Regions from separate parts of the Homo sapiens genome. Here region 1 is linked to region 2. The links are contacts of gene promoters, found by promoter capture Hi-C in blood cells and fetal thymus (Javierre and others, 2016). All regions are on one chromosome and are shown on one strand. The core of a region is centred on a gene start or on the middle of the fragment in contact, and the rest is flanking DNA. Distances in the headings are between cores, read along the strand shown.

Region 1 (6,774 bases), core at 377-2,876, 120 kb before region 2:
TAATAAAAAGCACAGTCATAGCATTCTAGGATCGGAAAGAAGGATGTCTTTTTTTTTTTTTTTTTTTTTTTTTTTTTTTTTGAGGTAGGGTCTCACTTTTTCACCCATGCTGGAGTGCAGTGGCCCGATCTCAATTCATTGCAGCCTCGACCTTCTGGGTCCAAGTGATCCTCCTGCTTCAGCTCCCCAGGTAGCTGGAACTACAGGAGCATGCCACAAAGCCCAGCTAAAAAAGGATATATTTCCTTTTTTTTTTTTTTTTTGTGAGAAGCAGTCTCACTCTGTTGCCCAGGCTGGAGTGCAGTGGCACAATCTCAGCTCACTGTAACCCCTGCCTCCCGAGTTCAAGCGATTCTCCTGCCTCAGCCTCTCGAGTAGCTGGGACTACAGGTGCACGCCACCACGCTTGGCTAATTTTTGTATGTTTAGAGAGACGATGTTTCACCACACTGGCCAGGCTGGTCTCGAACTCCTGACCTCATGATCTGCCTGCCTCAGCCTCCCAAAGTGCTGGGATTACAGGTGTGAGCCACCAGCGCCTGGCCTCTTTTTTTTTTTTTTTTTGAGACGGAGTCTTGCTCTTTTTGCCCAGGCTGGAGTGCAATGGCACAATCTCGGCTAACTGCAACCTCTGCCTCCTGGGTTCAAGCGATTCTCCTGCTTCAGCCTCATGAGTAGCTGGGATTACAGGCACCTGCCACCACGCCCGGCTAATTTTTTGTATTGTTAGTAGAGACGAGGTTTCACCATGTTGGCCTGGTTTCGAACTCCTGACCTCCTGATCCACCCGCCTCGGCCTCCCAAAGTGCTGGGATTACAGGAGTGAGCCACCGCACCCAGCAGAAGGATATATTTCTTAACAGAAATTTTCATTATGATTCCCACGTGCATATCTAAATAGAGAAGTGCAGAAAATAAAATACAATAGGAATTCTAGTTCCTCATCCATCTGCCTTGTGCTGTTAGTTGGATGATATGGTTTATCTCACGGCTGCCAGCACCACTCTGTAATATTTGAAATGCACATTTTTATCTTACAATAGAATAATGTGAGAGCACCTTAGGGCAGATTATTTTATGTTCCTTCCATGTACCTTATACACATCATATACTCAAGTGAATCTGTAAGCTTGAATAGTGGGAACATTTACAGAGCAACAGACTGCTGCTTCCAACAAAACTGTTATTTTAGTCTTTTGTTTTTTTCAAGATTCAGTATCTCTATGATATTCCATTCTTTTCGTTTCATGTTCTTATAGTAAGTGTGTCACTCAAAGATACTGACGGATAAAAGAAATGCGTCCAATCTCAGTAGAGTAGTTGTTTATACATTTAAACTGGCACTCAGCACTGGAGTATTCCTAAGGAGATGTTGCCAATAAATTTCAAGACTAATTTTGTAAAATGTCCTTTATATGTGTACATCGGTGCTTCTACTGAAAAAAACAGCAGTGAGAAAATGTGAGTTTTATTTATAGTTTGAGTTGGTTCTCCTCCTAAGGAGGACATAATCAGACACAAGATACAAAAACTTATTTGTTAGCAAGATCTGATTGAAAAAGTACCTACATGAGAAGACCACCAAATAATATACTTTCAAAATCTTCCTGATTTTAAATTTAGAACGTGTCTACTAAGTCGACACACAAAAAAAGGACAACGGTCCCCTCCACCGTTAAAGCCTGTGACTGGGTCTACGACATTATCTTCTGGAGAGTACAATCTTTTGAAAAGACCATTTTAGCTAGGATTCTTACTAAAACATAATACAAAACAACCACCGAAACTGGAGTTTAGATCATCTCATTAACCCTCTGGCTAGGAGAGCATTTTACTCATTAAACCTTTGACGAACTCAAAAACCACCACTCTAATACTTGGTTGTAAAGAAGCTGAAATAAAGTATCTGAACCAAATGCACAGAACATTGTTTTGCACAAGCCCTAAGCTGCAGCAGTGCGAATCATGGCCCTCGGAGTACCACTTCTTGCTTTTATCCCGTGCTACACCTTTCCCAGTAAAGAGCTTCTTAGGAAGGGTTTCCACACCTTTTCACACACTTTCACAAAGGGAAAAGCAAATGGAAAAGTTGACAACTACATTAGGAGTATCTTTTTAGGACACAAGCTTAGCTAATTCACACAGCTTCCTTTGTCAAATACTGGACTACCAAGAAGCATCAAAACCAAAATCTGCAGTCTAAGCAGGGCACAGCTGCAGCACGTTCACTTCATTTAACCTCAAGTTGAAGCAGAAACATAAAATCTTTTTTTTTTTTTTTTTTAATTTTGAGATAGAGTCTCACTCTGTTGCCCAGGCTGGAGCGCAATGGTGCCATCTCAGCTCACTGCAACCTCCACATCCCAGGTTCAAGTGATTCTCCTGCCTCAGTCTCCCAAGTACCTAGGATTGCAGGTGTGCACCACCACACTCAGCTAGTTTTTGTATTTTTAGTAGAGACAGGGTTTCACCATATTGGCCAGGCTGGTCTCAACCTGACCTCAAGTGATCCCGCCCACCTCGGCCTCGAAAAGTGCTGGGATTACCGGTGTGAGCCACGGTGCCTGGCATAAAATCTTTTTAATACAGATGTTAAATTACCTGGTTGAAAAGCTAGTTGTCTCTTTTGTCTAGTCTGTTTAGAATATATTCTAACCTCCATTTTTCTGTCCATCAGCATTTTATTCCATTAGAAATTACTTCTCATGTTGAGAATGTCAACCTGGACAAACAAGATTCAACCTAACCTGGCAGGATGTGTGCTGGATGCCCAGGAAGCCTCTCCTGACTTGCAAGCGTCCCCTACTTCCACTCTTCCACATCCTTCAGACCCACCTGCTCACTGCTGCACTCAGGCTCACTTATGCCATCTCTCAGCCATGGACTGATCTCGCAGATGGCAAACAAAGTATACCCAGAGTCCAGAGGAGGAAAAGGCAACTTCCTGTTGATGTTTCACATGCAATCTTACCTTTTGGACAAAGAGCAGAACTGCCTGATTCAATCTTTTATAATTTACTTTTACCTTAAGGAATTGCATATATAAACTTATCTTACTGCACGGCTTTAATTCCATTTTGAATATGTATTTTCTTGAGATTATTGATAGTCTCCATAAAAATCTTTGCTTCCTCTCATTTACATCTGAAAACAAAACAAAACAAAAATGCTGATGGACAAACGTAGTAGCATGGGCATACACCTGAACTGAGGAAAAGCCAGAATTGGCAGCACAGCACACAGGGCCTTCCTCGTCAGGAATGCACCTTGTAGAGTACACCGCTTCACTCTGATGGGTGGAAAAGGTCTCTCTCCACCTCATTTCCAGTGGATCCTGCATTTCTTCAAGGAATACAGATCATGTTCTATTGAGCTTTCCAATTCATCATCACAAAACTACAGTTTTCAATTGAAAATACATAATACTCAAAGAGTAAGATGGGGAAGTGGTGAGTAAACTCATTTTTTAGAATGGCAAAATGTCAGAGCTGGGAAGCAGCTCGGAGCTGCTTTAATCCTGTGCGGCTCAAATGGGAAGGCATATTTGTCCCTAACAATGAGTCAGAGAACCATGAAATGATACATAAATTGATTTTGTTAAAAAAAAACCTTGACACGCAACACTGACAGAATACAAGCTGAGCAGCACTAATCTGAAAATCTGAAATCTGAAATCCTCCAAAATCTAAAACTTTTTGAGCACCAACATGACATCACAAGTGAAAAATTCTGATGTTTCTTCTCACCTACGAAAATTAAACACAATCCAAGCACAATGATGCATACCTGCAGTCCTAGCTACTTAGGAAGCTGAGGCTAAAGGATTACTTGAGCTCAGGAGTTCAAAACCAATATGGGCAGCATAGCGACACTCTGTCCCCTAAAAGATAAATAAAATAGGCCGGGTGCAGTGGCTCACACCTGTAATCCCAGCACTTTGGGAGGCCAAGAAAGGGAGATCACTTGAGCTCAGGAGTTTGAGACCAGCCTGGGCAACACAGTGAAACCCTGTCTCTATAAAAAATACAAAAATTAGTCAAGTGTGGTGACATGTGCCTGTAGTCCCAGGAACTTGGGAGGCTAAATTAAGAGGCTCACTTGAGCCTGGGGGGCGGAGGGTTGGGGGGGCATTAAGCCGAGATCATGCCACTGCACTCCAGCCTGGGCAACAGAGGAAGACTGTCTCAAAATAAAAATAAAAATAAAAATAAAATAAAAATAAATAAATAAAATGAAATAAAATAAAAATACATAAAACACAGTGTACAGTGACCTTTTAATCACAACACAGCATCATAGGTGGACACTGAAAAGTCTGCTGCTGCTGTTATCTGACGGCTGATCCAGGTACTGTGGCGATGTCACTGGGCTGGTTAGTTACCCGAGCACATCATTTCCTCACTGTATTAATGCTATGTCATGTTCTTTACTGCTGAGTACTCCCATGCGAGCAAGGGTAAGAAGATGACTGCCACTTGGTAGCATATAAATCCAGAACCAGGCACGATGGTGGCATTAAGCAACCAGACTGTCCACATGGGTGGCTGGGATGGTGACATCTTTGCTTTCTGATGGTTCAATGTACAGACCTCATTTCACGCTAAATTTATTTAAAACATTGTATAAAAGTACCTTCAGGCTATGTGTATAAGGTGTATACAAAACAATTCTGTGTTTAGACTCGGATCCCATCCCCAAGATACCTCATTATGTATATGCAAATATCCCAAACTCCAAAAATAACTGAAATATAAAACACTTCTGGCCTCAAGCATTTCAAATAAGGGATACTCAATCTATAGTTATAAAAATGTCTTCCTCAAGTTATTAATACAGCCCTGGAGGCACTCCCTAAAGTCTTATTATCTGAACCTGCAAATTACCTTCCTTAATAATTAAATGCCATTTAACAGTGTTATAAGTGGTGATAAAATACACCTTATTTTACACATGCATTAATGTGAAGTCCTCCTTTCTTGAATTTAATATTCCTAATATATACGTATTTCTTAGCATTTCAGTGAAAGGGAAATATTCCATAACAATTATAATCCTATATAGCTCTTGAAAATCACACCTCAGAAGTCAAGACAAGGAATCTAAATAGAGCAGACATAAAACACTTGACCGAAGTCAGGATCCTATCTTCATTAGTCCCTCCATGCCCAGTCTAGATCCCATTTACTCCTGTCTTTGCAATTATGTTTTTTTCCATTATGTTCAATCCTTCCCTGTCACTGTTTCAACAGCTTATTCTGTCGCAAAAAAAAGAAAGTGAACGTGGGGAGGGGAGGAGCTGAGGAGCAAGGGAGGAGCTGAGGAGCAAGGGAGGAGCTGAGGAGCAGGGAAGGAGGGCAGAATCAGCAGGACTGGACGTCCTCCTGGCCTCCTGCTGAAGAGGCAGCTCTCAACTGTTTCTATCTCCAACCTCCCAGAAAACTTTCCTTCTACAAGAACCAGCCTCCTGCTTGCTGGTGGACAGGGAGGACCTCTCACAGCACAGTGGAACAGACCAGCCTTTCCCTTGAAGCCCACTCTACCCTCTTCCACTTCGTCACCTGCTTTCTCAGCCTCTTGGGAATGCTCTTCTGCACTAAGTAGGGCAAAAGCTCTCTTGCCCTGTGCAATCAAAAGAAATAGTAAATCAAATGGGCAATCATAAAGATGAATACATAAATCTTTAGCTATTTTATACATCTTCATTCACACGGGCCTTTTTCTGAGACTTGGTCAATTAGATATTATTTCTTTCCCACATAAACTATATCCATAATGCATCAACAAAGATCTTCATTGTTTTTTAAAGTGCAGCTGAGAGACAGGAAAACCCTCTGAATAGTACAATGCTTCTATGACTCTTCTTCAGTTTTTATCCTTATTTTCATATCTAATTCATCAGCAGTTTCTCTGTGATTTGTTTTTGAGATACTCCAAAGTTTTCAAATGAGTAACTGCTTTTACACTATTTTGATCAATTTATATTAATTAAATCACACAGCTGCACGAATGAGTATGATCGATGAACAAGTTTGGAAGCTGACCTGGCTTTGGTAAGCACACAACTCCACTGGTGGGAAGAGGGAACAGCCCTGCTGAAGAGAAGCCCAGCGCCAGTGTGGTGCAACCCACAGGTATGCATGGATCCACAGACAGCGTTGATCCTGGTGACAGGCCACGGTATGTGTGCAAAGGAGTCTACCTCCTTGTCTCCTTGAGTTATGCTCCTGTGCTCCCAGTTTCTCATGGCTTCTGTTCACAACCATATGCTCAGTTTCAGCACAAAATTATCTAAGTGAATGCCCAGTGAACACCTTATGATCCTGCAGAGTTCTCAAAATCAATTCCCTACTTCTCATTTAAAACAAATACGAACTGATAACCAATCTCTCTTATTGAAGGACATATCATTGACTCAGGTGCCCAAGGCAGAAACTTGCAAATACAGCTTTAACTTCTGCTCAAGTTTCTATCCCTGTCATGAAACTGTGCAGAAAACCACCAACTGAACTGAATTACCACCCAGTTTCTTAAAGCATCTCCCTTCTTCCCACCTCCCCAAACTCCACAGATTCTTCCAGACTGCCCTCCCTAAAGCGAGGGACTCGCAACTGAAACCTTCTGACAGGCTGCACCAGGATAAAGTGAAAAGAACCACAGCTACTGAGATGCTCTCCCCATCCTCCCACAAAGCCTTGGTTGGTTATTCTATGTACTCCTGCAAACCTTTACACCCAGGAATACAGCATATCAAATTATCATCCTCACTCCAACACA
Region 2 (4,968 bases), core at 1,527-4,026:
AACAACGCTAATGTAAAACACAGAATTTACAGAAAAATAGAGAAAATAAACACATTTGTTTTCCTCAGAAAATGAACACTTTCTTTGGTAATTGATAATTTCCAAAACCTCGATTTTAGCTAAGTAAATTTTTGTGGACTCAAGTCTGAATGATAAACCGGCTTTGGTTTCTTGGTTCCAGTAAACCTGTCTGTCTTCATTTAAAGAACTAACCGTGTCACACACACATCCTCAACAGAAAACCCCGTAGAAACCGGCTAGCGTTGTCAGGAGAACATCCATCCTCTCTTAAACGTGTTCTTGAGTGGATGAAGGTAACACATGCTCACAGGATCCTGGACATTCTTTCTACACTTGAATTTCTTTCTTTTTTTTTTTTTTGAGATGGAGTCTCGCTCTGTCGCCAGGCTGGAGTGCAGTGGCACAATCCCGGCTCACTGCAACCTCTGACTCCCAAGTAGCTGGGATTACAGGCGTGTGCCACTACGCCCAGCTAATTTTTGTACTTTTAATAGAGACGGGGTTTCACCATGTTGGCCAGGATGGTCTTGATTTCTTGACCTTGTGATCCGCCCGCCTCGGCCTCCCAAAGTGATGGGATTACAGGCGTGAGCCACCACGCCCGGCTTGAATTTCCTCTTCGGTGTGTGGTCGACAGATTCCTGCACAGTCTCAACCCTGCCTGGGACACATAGGGACTCACACTGCCCCATCCACAGCTACATTCACAGCCCCATTCACAGCCCCATTCACAGCTCATTCACAGCCCCATCCACAGCCCCATCCTTCATCCTCATGGTGCTTCATGAGGTCAATGGTGTAGATCCAGCCTGGACTTTGTTCACCGTCTGCCCGCTGCCAACCTGGACTCCCGTGGACACAGCTGAGACTGGATGCTGTGTGTACCTGCTCCCCAGGAATTCCCAGCTCTGCTTGCAGACGCCTCTGGGCTGCCCTCCTCACTCCGATGGCATCCTTTTCTTCCAGTTCTGCTGGGTTGTATAATGGGTGGCTACTACAGGAGTCGGTAAAATACCCTGGAAAAAATGCATGTGGGAACATCCCTCTTTATTCCTGAAAAGTGAATATATTAAATACAAATGCAGATGCTTCATGTAAAACCATCATCCGTCATCAGCAGAAGACAGCCTGGCGGGGGGAGTGGGTTTGTCATGGGCTCTCAGAGCAGCACTCGCCTCCAGCCTCCACGGCTGTGGGCTTGGTGAGGGTCTTCCACATGACCACCTGGCGGGGCTGGCCCTGACCGCTCCTGCGGCCCTTCCTGCAGATGTGCACACACATGTCCCGTGGCACTATCCCAGTATGTCTTAGGAGAGGGACTGGTTCCTACTCAGTTTTGTACCCACAGAGGACCTGAGATGCCATGGGGTGGCGGGAGGAGGTGGTGGGGCTGTGGGCTGGGTGGCTGCACCAGCTGGGCTGAGGAAGCTGGGCTGCACTTTGAGGGTGGTGATCAGTGAGCATGGTTTCACAGGAAGACTGCTGGAATACCTTTGACCAAGTTTCCTTACTGAGAGGTTCTACTTAATTTACCCAAGTAACAGCAATAGCGCTATGACGGGAGGTCACACTCTCCTCAGTAAATCTCTGTTCCCTCTCGTTCCTCAGACCCTCAGTGCTTCCTTCGGTCACTCTGCAAGGAGTTTGGCTGAAGTTGAATCCACTCTTGCAAGTACAAGAGCTGGTACTCCCACCTGCCCCTATGTATCCTGGAGGCGGCTAACACATGATAGGAAATCTTAGCTCCAGGGGCTTTATTTGCAAACTGTTGACTATGTACTACAGTTGACCCTCTTAACTTTGCAGCTCCTGAATTTTTCTGAAACAAACTTTGCATTCAGCTCCATCAAGGAGCCCGTGAGTACAACTTGACCAGCAAGTATGGTGGTGGGTTTGGGAATGGGCAGGATGTACCCACTGCGGCTCCGAGGAAGAACTAAGGGAGGAGAAAACCTCGGCCACAGCTGGCCGTGCTTAGCCATTCGCTTTAATGGCTCAGGCAAGGTCTGGTTTTGAAAATTTGAGGACAGCCTAGGCCAAAACACTTTAAATGACCACAATTGACGTAAATGCTGTTCCCCTCTAAAAAATTTTTTGGCCGGGCCCGGTGGCTCACGCCTATAATCCCAGCACTTTGGAAGGCCAAGACAGGCATATCACGAGGTCAGGAGATCGAGACCATCCTGGCTAACACGGTGAAACCCCGTCTCTACTAAAAATACAAAACGTTACCCGGGTGTGGTGGCGGGCGCCTGTAGTCCCAGCTACTTGGGAGGCTGAGGCAGGACAATGGCGTGAACCCAGGAGGCGGGGCTTGCAGTGAGCCGAGATGGCGCCACTGCACTCCAGCCTGGGTGACTGAGCCAGACTCCATCTCCAAAAAAAAAAAAAAATTTTAAGTTGTAATTTTAAGAAGTACAAGATAATTAAAACTCTAAGACCTGTAAGATAATTTTTATTATTATTACCTAGTTAATTTTATGCTAAATGCTATTTTAATCCCCTAAATCCTTAGGTTGATAAATTCCTCTGCATTTAAGTAACTTGCCGTTGCAAAGAAACAACAAAACAAAAAAACCCAGAAACTCATATAGTTTCTTACTTTTTTAAAAAAGAAAACCCAGCCTACTGAAGAGCTATCAGCATAATTAGCATCTGCCTAAGCTGCCGATTTTCTGCAGGATGAGCTGCCAGCTCACCACAGTGCGGCACTGAGCACCAGAGAGTTCCTGTCCCAGATTCCTCCGGTCAAGTCACATGAGATGCTCTCTTCAGTCCGGGGCTTGGTTGAACGGACTCACCAGGAAACGTGACTTTCGTGTCCGACCTCTGCTGTATCAGGATTCGATTCTTGGTGTTAAACAAGACAACGCTGAAGGCTCGGTGCAGCAGCCCTGCAAAGGTAAGTGCCATTTGTGTGAGTGCATGCCTGGAGTCTGTACGATTGTCCTTCGTGCTTTTTGTCCTCAGTCTGTTTCTCGTAGAAAAGCCTGTGATTGTGGCACCTGGGCAGGGCAAAGGGGACTGCTGGATGCCCAAACACAACGTTTCAGAATCTCAGCGGATTAGAACACTCGGGAAACTAAAAATAGATCTACCAGATGACCCAGAAATCCCACTACCAGGGCAAATATCCAAAATAAAAGAGATCAGTCTATCAGAGAGATATCGCAGCATTCCTGGGTGCTGAGCACCATTTACGACAGCCAAGATATGAGATCAACCTGTGTCCGTGGAGGTTTGAAGGGTTGAAAACATGAGGGTTAGATACACAGTGGCATACCATTCCACCACAAAAGAAGAATGAAATCGGGCCGGGTGCGGTGGCTCACGCCTGTAATCTCAGCACTTTGGGAGGCTGAAGTGGGCGGATCACGAGGTCAGAAGATCGAGACCACCCTGGCTAACATGGTGAAACCCCGTCTCTACTAAAAATACAAAAAAATTAGCTGGGCGTGGTGGCAGGTGCCTGTAGTCCAAGCTACTCGGGAGGCTGAGGCAGGAGAATGGCATGAACCCAGGAGGCAGAGCTGGCAGTGACCTGAGATTGCACCACTGCACTCCAGCCTGGGCAATGGAGCAAGACTCTGTCTCAAAAAAAAAAAAAAAAAGAAGAATGAAATCCTGTCATTTGTAGCAACATGGATGGAACTGGAGGCCATTGTGTTAAGTGGAACAAACCTGGCACAGAAAAACAAGTATCACATGTTCTCACTGCTATGTGGGCTCTAAAGAAGTTGATCTCATGGAGGCAGAAAACACAATGCTAGACACCAGAGGCTGCGAAGGGCAGTGGGGAGGGATGACGAGAGGGTGGTTAATAAGTATAAACATACCGCGATAGAGAAGGAATAATATCAGCTGTTCAATAGCACAGTAGGGTGACTGTAGTTAACAACAGTGTATTATATGTTTCAATGTGGCTAGAACAGAGGATTTGGAATGTTCCCAACACAAAGATATGATGAATGTTTGAGGTGATGGATATCCCAAAATGCCCTATTTGATCATTATGCATGACATGGTGGTATCAAACTATCACATGTACCCCATTAATATGCATAATTATTATGTGTTTATAAAAAAGACACAAAAATGAAAATTAAAAAATAATAAAATGGCTTAAGATGGTCAAAGAAAACCAGAGCTGGACAGGAGTTAAAGCAGGAAAGTCTGACTTTACTGAGAACCATTTCAATAGGGGAAAGAGACCTCCATGGAGAACCAGCCTAACTGCACACAACACCCAAGGAGCAGGCTGGGGCCTATGGATTAAAAGTTACTAAGAGAAAACATCAGTGGGAAGGGGGTTCTGGCTACACCGACCTAACAAGACCTGCTGAAGACAGGCCTGCGTGATCAGACGTCACCTGGGAGGGACGGGGTTGAGGAATTTAATCAGATGCCAAGGTCAGGGTTCTCGCTAAAACAACCTGGTAGAATTCTTGCTGAAACAGGATCTTACGAGGAAGAGCACGGATGCCTAGGAGAAGGTGCAGGAGCCTGACAAGGGCTTGACCAAGCAAAGACGTCATCCAGGTGCTGCTCCCCGAGCCTTCTAAAGACGGCACAGCAAGCACACAGGTGACCCAGTGGTCGCCTCCTAGCCGGAAAGGCCTAGACTCTCTTCTTAGGTTGCCGTCGGGTGGGAAAAATGGGAAAACCCTGGGAACTGGACAGAGAAAATGGGCGGGGGCTACCTTTCTCAATGTTTTCGTTCAGATGGCAATTCCTCTTGGTGTCGGCACCAATAACCTTATCATTCTCATCCACAACAATCAGCATTTCCTCCAAGCGCTGCAACTGACGCCTGTCAACCCAGTCAAGATTTATGTCAGACATAGCTGCTGGCTGTGACCCGACCTGAAATAGATGCACACAAATGCCTCTTTATGTGAAAGATATTGCCATCTCGTTTTTGCTATGTGTTACCAACCACATTAGGAT

What was found. Contacts are between HindIII fragments. The CHiCAGO score rates a contact against its expected background, and 5 or more counts as called.
Region 1: a fragment that was not itself captured here is called in contact with the fragment with the promoter of IDI2-AS1 in region 2 in 1 of 17 cell types (monocytes); the score reaches 5.7 in monocytes.

The regions. Positions count from the first base shown.
Region 1 is chr10:900,373-907,146 of GRCh38, forward strand. The region is part of intron 1 of LARP4B (La ribonucleoprotein 4B); the gene reads right to left. Among named protein-coding and RNA genes, the nearest start is that of LARP4B, 28 kb to the right of the region's middle. The HindIII fragment of the contact is 998 bases long and covers 1,128-2,125 here.
Region 2 is chr10:1,019,861-1,024,828 of GRCh38, forward strand. IDI2-AS1 (IDI2 antisense RNA 1) reads left to right here and starts at 2,777. Exons shown (of 5, transcript NR_027709.1): 1 at 2,777-2,923. IDI2 (isopentenyl-diphosphate delta isomerase 2) reads right to left here. Exons shown (of 5, transcript NM_033261.3): 2 at 4,722-4,884; 3 at 2,823-2,915; 4 at 907-1,037. The coding sequence starts at 4,863. GTPBP4 (GTP binding protein 4) reads left to right here. Exons shown (of 17, transcript NM_012341.3): 17 at 1-72. The HindIII fragment of the contact is 10,709 bases long and covers 1-4,968 here.